Linked DNA regions of Homo sapiens: all the other regions are linked to region 2. Evidence: promoter capture Hi-C in 16 types of primary human blood cells and fetal thymus (Javierre and others, 2016). All regions are on one chromosome and are shown on one strand. The core of a region is centred on a gene start or on the middle of the fragment in contact, and the rest is flanking DNA. Distances in the headings are between cores, read along the strand shown.

The links. The method cuts DNA at HindIII sites, captures the fragments that hold promoters and counts their contacts. A CHiCAGO score of 5 or more calls a contact.
Region 1: a fragment that was not itself captured here is called in contact with the fragment with the promoter of NANOS3 in region 2 in 1 of 17 cell types (total B cells); the score reaches 7.0 in total B cells.
Region 3: a fragment that was not itself captured here is called in contact with the fragment with the promoter of NANOS3 in region 2 in 1 of 17 cell types (non-activated CD4 T cells); the score reaches 5.2 in non-activated CD4 T cells.
Region 4: a contact is called between a fragment that was not itself captured here and the fragment with the promoter of NANOS3 in region 2, in 4 of 17 cell types (total B cells, fetal thymus, naive CD8 T cells and 1 more). The highest score is 6.3, in total B cells.

What each region holds. Positions count from the first base shown.
Region 1 is chr19:13,282,794-13,286,011 of GRCh38, reverse strand. It overlaps CACNA1A (calcium voltage-gated channel subunit alpha1 A), which reads left to right. Exons shown (of 47, transcript NM_001127222.2): 21 at 806-944; 22 at 2,616-2,745. Among named protein-coding and RNA genes, the nearest start is that of IER2, 130 kb to the right of the region's middle. The HindIII fragment of the contact is 3,325 bases long and covers 1-3,138 here.
Region 2 is chr19:13,875,739-13,878,816 of GRCh38, reverse strand. NANOS3 (nanos C2HC-type zinc finger 3) reads right to left here and starts at 1,683. Exons shown (of 2, transcript NM_001098622.3): 1 at 1,052-1,683. The coding sequence starts at 1,568. The HindIII fragment of the contact is 10,444 bases long and covers 1-3,078 here.
Region 3 is chr19:14,533,789-14,536,747 of GRCh38, reverse strand. The region is part of intron 1 of TECR (trans-2,3-enoyl-CoA reductase); the gene reads right to left. It also overlaps a transcript of DNAJB1 not described here. Among named protein-coding and RNA genes, the nearest start is that of TECR, 5.7 kb to the right of the region's middle. The HindIII fragment of the contact is 5,775 bases long and covers 1-2,959 here.
Region 4 is chr19:14,423,205-14,426,376 of GRCh38, reverse strand. No RefSeq gene overlaps it. Among named protein-coding and RNA genes, the nearest start is that of DDX39A, 5.4 kb to the right of the region's middle. The HindIII fragment of the contact is 8,906 bases long and covers 1-3,172 here.

The DNA of each region.
Region 1 (3,218 bases), core at 227-2,726, 590 kb after region 2:
GTACTGCAGCCTGGGTGACAAAGCGAGACTGTCTCAAAAAAAAAAAAAAAAAAAAAAAATGGTGAACTGCTGGGTGGATTATGTCTTAAGTTCATCTAGTGTCAGTTCTATGTGAGAGATTTTCATGAGTTTGCTGGATAAAGGCTTTCCATGGTCCTGAGACCTAAGATCCTAAGGTCTTGTCACTGTGCCCATTTTATAGATGTAGGGACTGAGGCTCAGAGAGGCTCAGCCTGCCCGTGGGCACATAAGCAGGCTGGGCTGCAGAATGGAAGCTCCAGAGGCTGATGGCTCCTCCCCCTGAGTCAAGAGAGGGGTGCTAATGGGGGCATGCCATGCAGTTTATGGGAGGTCTCAGTATTTCTATCTGTTCAGTGGGTCTCTTGGCACTCTCCCTACCTGCCTGCAAGTGAGGGTGTGAAGGTCCAACGAGGATAGGGGCAGGTCTGTGTTAATATCCCATGAGGGCCCCACCGCACTCAAGGCTATAGAGTGGTTGAGAGCAGGCTCTCGGGGGCCAGGCCGCCTGGGTTCCAAATGCCAGCTCTGCCACTTCCTGCTGTGTGACCTTAGACAAGTCACTTTACTTCTCTGTGCCTCAATTTCCTCATCTGTAAACAGGAGATCAGAATATATCAACCTCAGGGCTATACAAGGGTTCAGTGATGTCATAAGATGCCTGGTATATACAGCAGGCACTTTAGAAATGTCAGCCGCTTCTTGCCTGCCCTGGGAGTACACAGGAGTTCCCAGAGACTTGTGGGAAATTGTGGAGGGAGCCCTGTGTTGGTTCTTGTCCCAACAGTGAACAAAAACGCCAACCCAGACCCACTGCCAAAAAAAGAGGAAGAGAAGAAGGAGGAGGAGGAAGACGACCGTGGGGAAGACGGCCCTAAGCCAATGCCTCCCTATAGCTCCATGTTCATCCTGTCCACGACCAACCCGTGAGTATGGCCCCCAGCAAGGGCAGGGGGGGCCTGGGGCTCCCACCAGGGTGGCGGAAGTCAGGCCAGATAGAGGGCAATGAGTGAGTGTTGACCACCATGAGTCCAGGGATACCTTTGAACAAGTTGAAAATGGATGCTCCTTCCGTAAGTCAGGTAAGATGATTTGTCACAATATACTTTGTTGGAAGAGACCCCTGTCCTGCCATCCACTAGAAAATCATTGTTATTTATGACAATAAATAAACAAATTTGTCATAAATAAACAAATAAATTTGTCCTAAACAACAAATAAATTTGTCATAAATAAACAAATCTTCACTGTGATGTAAGAGGCACCCCCTTAGAAATGGCTGCCTTGTGCAGTACACAGCCTGAACAACTGCACGTGGCAGCCCTAGGACCTGAACTCTGTTTCTAACCTAGACTCTGTAAGGGTTTAGATTCTGGGCGGATAGTGTCTGAGTTCCATGGCCTTCTGTCTTGGGCATCTTTGAAATGGATAGACTATTTAGGGGAGAAATTTATCCCATGAATGTCGTAGTGGCTCGGAGGTTGTTTTAGAATTGAATGTCTCCCAGGGATATTTCTTGAAAGCCTGACCGCTCAAAATGCTTCTTGACAATGAAGGATCATGTCAGATAAGATGGGGGAGAAGCTGCTTTCTATAATCTGCCTCTTGGCAACTCACCCTGGGTAGTAATAAATAAAAGTACCTTTAAAGTACTTTTTTATTTAGTTGACTTATCGATTTTACTAAGGAAACACTTATGTGGTATCTACTCAGTGCCAGGCACTGTTCTGAGTGCCTTAAAATTTTTTTTAATTTCTCTGAGGTTGTTACTATGCTTAGCTCCATTTGACAGATGAAAAAACTGAGGTCCAGAGACGTGAATTCACCTGCCCAAGGTCACACAGCAAGCCAGTGGGAGAGCTGGAGTTTGAGCCCAGACACTGGCTCTAGCCTCCTTGTTCTTAACCACTCAGCTCTGCTGCCATTCACACAACCTTATGAACTATTTATTATTGGCTCCACTTATTAAGAGGTTAACTGGCACATCCCATTGGCACATTCAAGGCTCTGATAAGGCCTGCAATTCATAATTTCAATAACTAACTTTTTGGAGCCCCTATCATGAGCCAGGCATAAATTAAGTCTTGGGTCTCATGATTTTGTGAAGTAAGCACTAGTATTACGGCTATTTTACAGATGAGGGCACCAAGGCACAGAGGGGACAAGTAACTTGCCCAAGGTCACACAGCTAATTTTTAAAAAGAAAGAAAGAAATCTACTTAACCCATAGATTCACAATATTGTTTGGCCCTGGGACATTTAATATCGAAAAGCCTTTTTATCTCCTACAGAATTAAGGACCGTATTTCTTCAACCTAGCTTGGGGATCAAGATACTTCAAGAGGGTCGTTTGGGAGTGATAGGAACTTTGCTAAACAGGGCATGTGAATGTCTTCTCTCACCGAGGTCCCCTCTGCCTTCTTGGGGTTCCAGGACCCAGAGAGGGCCCCCACCTGGAGGAGTTTAATAGTTTGTTGTGTAGGAGGCCTTGGGGGTTGGAGATCTCAGTAGTGGTAGGTAACATGAGATTATGGAAGAAAAGGGTTTGTGAGCCTGTGGTCTGAGTGGACCTCTGCACGCCCATCTGTCTCCAACAGCCTTCGCCGCCTGTGCCATTACATCCTGAACCTGCGCTACTTTGAGATGTGCATCCTCATGGTCATTGCCATGAGCAGCATCGCCCTGGCCGCCGAGGACCCTGTGCAGCCCAACGCACCTCGGAACAACGTGAGTCCCACAGAGCACACCCCTTCCTAGCCTGGCTGCTCTGCCTCAGGCCACTTTCTCCTGCATCCAAAATGCTCATAGGTAGGGTGGGATGTTGGGGTCACCCCTAGGCATAGCCCTTATGGCTGCTGGTTGAGAGGGGAAGCTCTGATTCCTTGGGGATGCTCTTGGGAGCAAGACATTCCTTGAGGCAGTTTCTCTGTGAGCCTGGTGGGGTGGAGGTGGCCCAGAGTGACTGGGGCTGAAAATTGCTGGATTCTCTAATGGAGGCGTGAGACTAGCAGGATATGGATGTTGCACATTCTCTACATGGAATAGGGGGGTTACTGGGGCAGGGGCGGTGCTCAGAGGTGGTCCCCTCCGCAGTAGACATTTCCCTTTGTACACGAAGCTTTGAAAGAAACAACTATTTGGCTCAGAAACACAGCCTAAGCTTTTGGTTTTTATGAAAGCAAGCCCCTTTGCGGATGGTG
Region 2 (3,078 bases), core at 434-2,933:
AGTAAGACCCTGTTTCTATGGGAGGAAAAAAAAAACACACCAGGAATGGTGGTGCACGCCTGTAATTCCAGCTACTCGGGAGGCTGAGGCAGGAGAATCGCTTGAACCCAGGAGGCAGAGGTTGCAGTGAGCCAAGATCGCACCACTGAACTCCATCCAGCCTGGGTGGATAGAGCGAGACTCTATCTCAAAAAAAAAAATTAAAAAAAAAAAGGAAGAAAAATAAATTGATAAATAAATAAAATAAAAGTCTTCTTTCTGCATCTATAATAACCCTGCGGGCCAGATGTGGTGGCTGATGCCTGTAATCCCAGCACTTTGGGAGGCTGAGGAGGGTGGATCACGAGGTTGGGAGTTCGAGACCAGCCTGGCCAACATGGTGAAACCCCATCTCTACTAAAAATACAAAAATTAGCTGGCCATGGTGGCAGGCGCCTGTAATCTCAGCTTCTCAGGAGGCTGAGGCAGAAGAATCGCTTGAACCCGGAAGGCAGAGGTTGCAGTGAGCCAAGATCATGCCACTGCACTCCAGCCTGGGTGACAGAAAGAGACTCTGTCTCAAGATAAATAAATAAATACATAAACAAACTGGCTCGGTGCGGTGCTCACGCCTGTAATCTCAGCAGTTTGGGAGGCCGAGGTGGGCGGATCACGAGATCAGGAGTTTTGAGACCAGCCTGGCCAACATGGTGAAACCCCATCTCTACTAAAAATACAAAATTTAGCCGGGCATGGTGGCAATTAGCCGGGTGTGGTGGCGCGCGCCTATAATCCCAGCTACCCAGGAAGCTGGGGCAGGAGAATCGCTTGAATCCAGGAGGTGGAGGTTGCAGTGAGCCGAGATGGCGCCACTGCACTCCAGCCTGAGCAACAGAAAGAGACCTGTCTCAAGATAAATAAATAAATACGTAAATAAAATCAACTGCTGTTCTAAGCTCTCTCTAAGGTCTTCCCCTAACCCTTGGAGGTGGGTACTGGGGCTAATCTTACTTCACAGGGGGGCTCAGCCACTACCCTCGGACAGGTCCCCCCCAGCCACCTGTGCAGGCACCTGCTCCTCCTCCTCCTCCTCGGCGGTGGCCTGTGTCCTGTGTCTTCGCCTTGTCAGGCCGGACCAGCTTCTTGCCTGCCGAGTTTCGGGTGGTGTGGCTGTAGACGGAGGTGTAGCCCTGGCCAGTAAGTGGGCAGAAGCGTCGGGTGTGGGCGCGCTCACGTGTGGCGCCGCACTGGGGACACACGTAGTCCCGCAGGATGGGACACAGCACCCTGCCAGCCTCGTCCTTCAGCACGTGGGACTGGTAGATGGCCCGGGACTCGCCGTTGTGTTTGCAGAAAGAGCACAGGCGTTCGGGAGCTGGCGAGGACTCCAGGCTGCGCTTCTGATCCTTGGGTCCCGGCACTGGCACCGACTCCGGCGCTGGCATCGGCTCCAGGGCTGACACCGGCTCCAGCATTGGCTCTGGCTCTGGCTGGGGGCTCAGCCTGGTTTCAGGACCCTCTTTCCCACTCAGAGCCCTAACCAGGTGTGCCAAACCCAGGTAATCTGTCCACAGGTCAAAGGTCCCCATAGCTGGGCAGCATGTGCCAGGCGGAAGGAGTCACAGAGACAAGTAACCCTGCCTGGCTTAAGCTCCCTCCTTCTGACCCCTCTCTGCTGCCCCTTCCTTCCCCTCTCTGGAGCCTGGGAGTCTGTGCTGGCCGACCCTCCTTTTACCTCCAAGGGGGTGTGAAGAGGGAGGAGCAGGCTGTGGGAGGTTCCTTATTGTCACAGGGGGGCCTGGTGCCCCACTAATACTCCTCCTAAAGGGCTGTATGGCCTCTGGCTGTGCCGGGGGACTACAGGACACAGGGTGTGTGGGGGGGCATCCTGCGAGGTGCACCACAGCCCCCCGTACACACCTCCAGGGAATTGGGGGGCTACCCTGCCTCCCCTCCTTGTAGGAGTCCTTAGCCCTCCAGCCCCACTGGAGGATGGGGAGAATGGGTTGGAAACCCCACCCCCAAAGACTAGCAGTTACCAGTAACTTAAAGAAGTTAACTTAGTAACTTCTTTATAACTTTTTCTTCCTTCCCCTGGGCGGGGGAGTGGCCAGGTGCCCCTGGGTTCTTTGTGTGTGTGTGTGTCCAGGCGGGAGGTTGCTGATGCTCCAGCTGTCTCTGAAAGGAGTGTGGTAGTCCCAGGCTCATGGGCTGGTTGCGGGGGTAGGGGGGAAGGATCATGCCCCCCGGCCCCCAGCTCTGGTCTCCCTCCAAGAGTTTTCACATCGGTTGTCTTAGTGGAACCCCCATTGAATGGATGAGCAAACTGAGGTGTGAAGCCACCTGCCCATCCAGTTATTTATAAAGACATGCACCAGGCCAGGGAGTGGTGGCTCATGCCTGTCATCCCAACAGTTTGGGAGGCCAAGACAGGCGGATCACCTGAGGTCAAGAGTTCGAGACCAGCCTGGCTAACATGGTGAAACCCTGTCTCTACTAAAAATACACACACACACACACACACACACAAAATTAGCTGGGCATGGTGGCGGGTGCCTGTGATCCCAGCTACTCAGGAGGCTGAGGCAGAAGAATTGCTTGAACCCAGGAGGCAGAGGTTGCGGTGAGCCAAGATCAAGCCACTGCACTCCAGCCTGGGAAACAGAGTAAGACTCTGTCTCAAAACAACAACAACAAAAAGCACCACATCTGCCTCCTTCTTCTAGTTACTGGGGCCCCCTGAGGCTAGGTGCTGGGGAGGGAGCCCTTTCCTGGCGGGGGCTGCAGAGGGGTGAGAAAGAACCCTCTGGAGTTGGGAGGTGGGGGATAGCAAGTTGGGCTGTTAGGAGGGGACCCCTAGTACCTACAGGTCTTCAGTGTCCTCCCCGAGATGAGATCTCAGCTCAGTCCCAGGAGGGGAGGGTGTGCTCAGGACTTGGACACAGAGGAGAGACGCTGTGCCGCTTACACAGCTCATCCACCCATCCATTCATTTAAGAAACTTTTATTGGCCAGGCACTGTGGCTCATTTTGAGAGGCCGAGGAGGATTGCTTGAACCTAGGAGTTGGAGACCAGCCTGGGCAACGTTTTGAGACCCT
Region 3 (2,959 bases), core at 72-2,571, 660 kb before region 2:
GGAAGGGGCCTCAGCTGTAGCATTTGCCACTTTCCGTGATGTAAATACCCTACCTGTGACTTAGAGATGTCAGCCTGATATCCCTGAACACAGAGTTGGGAAGATGCACACCATCAGCCAATGTCAGCCGGGTCTCGCACACCCAGGTGTCATTTTATGGATTAAAAAGCTAGTTCAAGGCCAGCCGCTGTGGCTCACGCCTGTAATCCCAACACTCTGGGAGGCCAAGGTGGGAGAATCACTTAAGGTCAGGAGTTCAAGACCAGCCTGGCCAATATGGTGAAACCCCATCTCTACTAAAAATACAAAAATTAGCCGGGCGTGGTGGTGGGCGCCTGTAATCCCAGCTACTCAGGAGGCTGAGGCAGGAGAATCGCTTGAACCCAGGAGGCAGAGGTTGCAGTGAGCCTAGATGGCACCACTGCACTCCAGCCTGGGCAACAGAGGGGGACTCTGTCTCACGAAAAAAAAAAAAAAAAACTAGCTCGAGAAACTAAAGACCTTGCCCGTGGGCTCCAAACCTTGTCAGTGGCAGTTAAGCATATGAGCCTAGCACTGATCCAAAGCCCGTAAGCATTGCCACCTTCCCAGGAAGAGTATCAATCAATACTGCCCAACCCAAAGGGGAACTGGCCTGCAGCCCTGGAAAAGGCCTTGTTCTCTGGGTCTCAGGTCCCTCATCTGTAACTTTACAGAAGTTAAACCAGAAAAATTATCTCAAGCCTGGGGCTCTGAGATTCTGAGTGCCTACAGCAAAGAAATGGCCTAAGTACAAAGCTACAGCCAGGACAGAAGGGACTCCACCAGGAGAATCTGCCCAGTGAGTCACCATCTGCTCAAAGCAAGAAGCCTGCAGGAAAATCTGAAAAGCCTAAGATCCCCTCCAACCCCCTCAGGATCTTGGCCTGAGTCAGGCTAACATAGGAAAGGTCTTTATAGCTCACCACAGCTCAAGGCTCACCACTTTCCCTTTTTTTTTTTTTTTTTTTTTGAGACAGAGTCTCACTCTGTTGCCCAGGACCGGAATGCAGTGGTGCGATCTCAGCTCGTCCGCGACCTCCACCTCCCAGGTTCAAACGAATTCTCCTGCCTCAGTCTCTCGAGTACCTGGGATTACAGGAGTGCACCATGATGCCTGGCTAATTTATATATACATACATATATATATATATATATATATATATATATATATATATATATATATTTTTTTTTTTTTTTTTTTTTTTTTTTTTTTTTTTTTTGAGACGGAGTCTCGCTCTGTCGCCCAGGCTGGAGTGCAGTGGCGCGATCTCGGCTCACTGCAAGCTCCGCCTCCCGGGTCAAGCCATTCTCCTGCCTCAGCCTCCCAAGTAGCTGGGACTACAGGTACCCACCACCACACTCAGCTAACTTTTTCTATTTTTTAGTAGAGACGGGGTTTCACTGTGTTAGCCAGGATGGTCTCGATCTCCTGGCCTCGTGATTCACCCACCTCGGCCTCCCAAAGTGCTGGGATTACAGGCATGAGCCACTGCACCCGGCCAATTTTTATATTTTTAGTGGAGAGGGGGTTTCGCCATGTTGGCCAGGCTAGTCTTGAACTCCTGACCTCAGGTGATCCTCCTGCCTCAGCCTCCCAACGTGCTGGGATTACAGGCATGAACCACTGCACCCAGGCAAGGCTCATCACTCTCAATCCTGCCCTTACTGCAAGGGGCAGCCCATCCGATTTTAGGGCAGAGAAAGACCCTCTCCCAGCAGTCCACACTGACCCGCAGCACCTCGCCCTCCCTTCAGGGATGCTCTGTCCTCAGAACACAGCAGGAGAGCCACCAGCTGTCCTAGGGCAGCATCAGCAGAGAAGCCATCAGTGTGGACAAAACTGGAGTCTGACAAACCCAGGTTCAGCTCCCTGGCTTCCAGGCTCTGTGACCTTGACCAGCTTAGTTTACCTCTCTGAGCTTCAGTTGCATTATCTGTAAAGTAGAACAGTAGTTCCCATCTGATCAGGTGCTAATAAGACTCACCCCTGGGCAAGGTGCGGTGGCTCACACCTATAATCCCAGCACTTTGGGATGCCAAGGCAGGAGGATCGCTTGAGCCCAGGAGTTCGAGACCAGCCTGGACTAACATGGTGAAACCCCATCTCTACTAAAACTACAGAAATTAGCCGGGCATGGTGGCACCCACCTGTAATAACAGCTACTTGGGAGGCTGAGGCAGGAAAATCGCTTGAACCGGGGAGGTGGAGGTTGCAGTGAGGTGAGATCACATCACTGCACTCCAGCCTGGGTGACAGAGCGAGACTCTGTCACAAAAAAAAAAAAAAAAAAAAAAAAAAAAAAGGCCAGGCATGGTGGCTCACTCCTGTAATCCCAGCACCCTGGGAGGCCGAGGCGGGCGGATCATAAGGTCAGGAGATCGAGACCATCCTGGCTAACACGGTGAAACCTCATCTCTACTAAAAATACAAAAAATTAGCCAGGCATGGTGGCAGGCACCTGTAGTTCCAGCTACTCGGGAGGCTGAGGCAGGAGAATGGCGTGAACCCGGGAGGCGGAGCTTACAGTGAGCCAAGATGGAGCCACTGCACTCCAGCCTGGGCGAGAGTGCGAGACTCTGTGTAAAAAAAAAAAAAGAAAGAAAACACCCTAAATGTGGGTTATGGGGGACCCCAAGAGGCTCGCTTCTGGGTATTCAGCTGCGGGAAATGGGCAGTGACCTGGACTGCTGGAGGCTGAAGACAGACTGATTTTCTCAGGAATTAACAGGCTCAATTACAAGATGTAGTAGCTGTTTTTCCAGTTGCTGCTGGGCTCATTGCTTTGAGTCTCATCTGCAGTGGCAAAAACAGCAATAAAATAAAAAAATACATTAAAAAAATACTGTATCCTAGGATAAGCAGTTCGCTTACCGACCTAGCTCTGACCCCAAGACAATGCTAAGGCCTGCTCTGGTATTCTAAGAAGACGGCTTCAGC
Region 4 (3,172 bases), core at 219-2,718, 550 kb before region 2:
AGATGGTGAAACCCCATCTCTACTAAAAATACAAAAATTATCTGGGTGTTGTGGTGGGCACCTGTAATCCCAGCTACTTGGGTGGCTGAGGCAGAGAACTGTTTGAACCCAGGAGGCAGAGGTTGCAGTGAGCCGAGACAGTGCCATGCACTCTGGCCTGGGTGATAGAGCAAGACTCCGTTTCAAATAAAAAACAAAAATCATGCTACTGCATTCCAGCCTGGGCAACAGAGTGAGACCAAAGAAACAAAAAAACAAACCACCTCCCACCGTCAAAAAAAAAACAAACAAAAACAAATAGTCTCACCTTACTTCCAACCACATGGCCCTTGCACTGGCTGTTATCTGTTCTGGAATGCTTTTCTATCACATCTTTCCAGGGCTGGCCCCTTTTGCTCATTTAGTTATCTGTTTAAATGTAACATCTTCTGAGCAATCTTCCTAGACCACACCGACGTCATTTCTGGCCCTTGGCCCTGTTTGATTATTTTGCATGTTACTCCTCCCTGAAATTGCACAGAGCCTGTGCTACGTCCGTCTTTGTGAAAGGAATGAGTGGGCACAGTATGAGGTATCAGGCGAAAGGTATCCCAGACTGCAAAGGCTGGAGGGGGTAGCTGTCGCACTTCAGAGGAAGCAGTCAGTGTAGGCTTCCCTGAAGGGCAGGTACTGGAGTAAACTTGGGAAAGACAAGCTAGAAAACTGCAAGGTAGGCTGGGCACGGTGGCTCACGCCTGTAATCCCAGCACTTTGGAAGGCCGAGGTGGGTGGATCACGAGGCCAGGAGATTGAGACCGTCCTGGCTAACACAGTGAAACCCCGTCTCTACTAAAAATACAAAAAAAGGCCAGGCGCGGTGGCTTATGCCTGTAATCCAAGCACTTTGGAAGGCCGAGACGGGAGGATCACAATGTCAGGAGTTGGAGAGCAGCCTGGCCAATATGGTGAAACCCTGTCTCTACCAAAAATATAAAAATTAGTCAGGCGTGGTGGTGGGCGCCTGTAGTCCCAGCTACTCGGGAGGCTGAGGCAGGAGAATCGCTTGAACCTGGGAGGCAGAGGTTGCAGTGAGCCGAAATCATGCCACTGCACTCCAGTCTGGGCGACAGAGCAAGACTCTCTCAAAAAAAAAAAAAAAAGGACTAAGCGTAGTGCCTCAGGCCTGTAGTCCCAGTACTTTGGGAGGCAGAGGTGGGAGGATTGCAGAGGACAGGAGTTCTAGACCAGCCTGGGCAGCATAGGGAGAGCATCATCTTTAGTTATTATTATTATTATTATTGAGACAAAATCTTGCTCTGTCACCCAGTTTGAAGTGTAATGGCACGATCTCGGCTCACTGCAACCTCTGCCTCCCAGGTTTAAGCAATTCTCCTGTCTCAGCCTCCTGAGTAGCTGGGATTACAGGCGTGTGCCACCGCGCCTGGCTAATTTTTTGTGTTTTTAGTAGAGATGGGGTTTCACCATGTTGGCCAGGCTGGTCTTGAGCTCCTGACCTCAAGTGATCCACCCACCTCAGCTTCCCAAAGTGCTGGGATTACAGGCAGGAGCCACTGGGCCCAGCTTCTAGTTATTTTTTAATGATACTAAAGAGAAAGAAAGGAACAAAATGATGCAGTCTGATACCATTTGTATCAAACACACACACACACACACACACACATATATATATAAAGTGAAAAAATGTATAAAGTAAAGGAGGCTGGGCGGGGTGGCTCATGCCTATAATCCTAGCACTTTGGGGAGGCAGAGGCGGGAAGATTGCTTGAGCTCAGGAGTTCCAGAGCAGCCTGGACAACATGGCAAAACCTCATTTCTTCTAAGAAATACAAAAATTAGTGGGCCAAGGAGGTGGAGGTTACAGTGAGCTGAGATCTCACCTGGCACTATGGCCCGAGTGAAAGCCAGACTGTTTATTTTTTTCTTTTTATTTATATCATGTAATTTTATTTTTTGAAACGGAGTCTCGCTCTGTCGCCCAGGCTGGAGTGCAGTGGTGTGATCTCAGCTCACTGCAGCCTCCACCTCCCAGGTTCACAAGATTATTCTGCCTCAGACAACTGAGTAGCTGGGATTACAGGTGCCTGCCACCATGCCCAGATAATTTTTGTAGTTTTAGTAGAGACGAGTTTTCTCCATTTTAGCCAGGCTGGTCTTGAACTCTTGACCTCAGGTGATTCACCCGCCTCGGTTCCCAAAGTGCTGGGATTACAGGCGTGAGCCACTGTGCCTGGCCCAGACCCTGTTTGAAAAAAAATAAAAATTAGTCGGGCATGGTGGCAGGTGCCTGTAATCCCAGCTACTCGGAAGGCTGAGGCAGAAGAATCGCTTAAACCCGAGAGGTGGTGGTTGCAGTTAGCCGAGATCGTGCCACTGCACTCCAGCCTGGGGAACAAGAGTGAAACTCCGTCTCAAAAAAAAAAAAAAAAAAAAAAAAAGTAAATGGGAAAAATAAAAAGGGAAATGAAAGGAAATTTATATGAAGTAGCTTTTTAGCTTTTTTTTTTTCCTTTGGTAGAGAAGAGGTCTCACCACATTGCCCAAGCTAGTCTTGAACTTCCTGCCTCAGCCTTCCAAAGTTCTGGGATTACATGTGTGAGCCACTACACCCAGTACCTTTTCTATGTTTTGATATGTATAGATATCCAAATACCTACCATTGTAACATCACAAAGAAGATGAAGGTAAAAACAACAAAACAAATACTTAGCATTGTGTTGCAATTGCCTACAGTATTCAGACAGTTACACACTGTCCGGGTTGGTAGCCTAGGAGCAGTAGGCTTTATATAGCAGGGGTCCCCACCCCCACCCCTCCCTGGCCTTGTGGCCTGTCAGGGACCAGGCCACACAGCAGGAGGTGAGTGATGGGTGAGCATTACCTACAGCCTGAGCTCTGCCTCCTCTCAGATCAGCAACAGCATTAGATTCTCATAGCAGCTCAACCCTATTGTGAACTGTGCATGTGAGGGATCGAGGTTGCCCATTCCTTATGAGAATCTAACTAATGCCTGATGATCTGAGGTGGAACAATTTCATCCCAGAACCATCCACCCTCCTTACGTCCATGGAAAAATTGTCTTCCATCATTCAGGTCCCTGGTGCCAAAAAGGTTGGGGACTGCTGGGCTATACCACATAGCCTACACGTGTAGTAGCCATACCATCTAGGTTTTT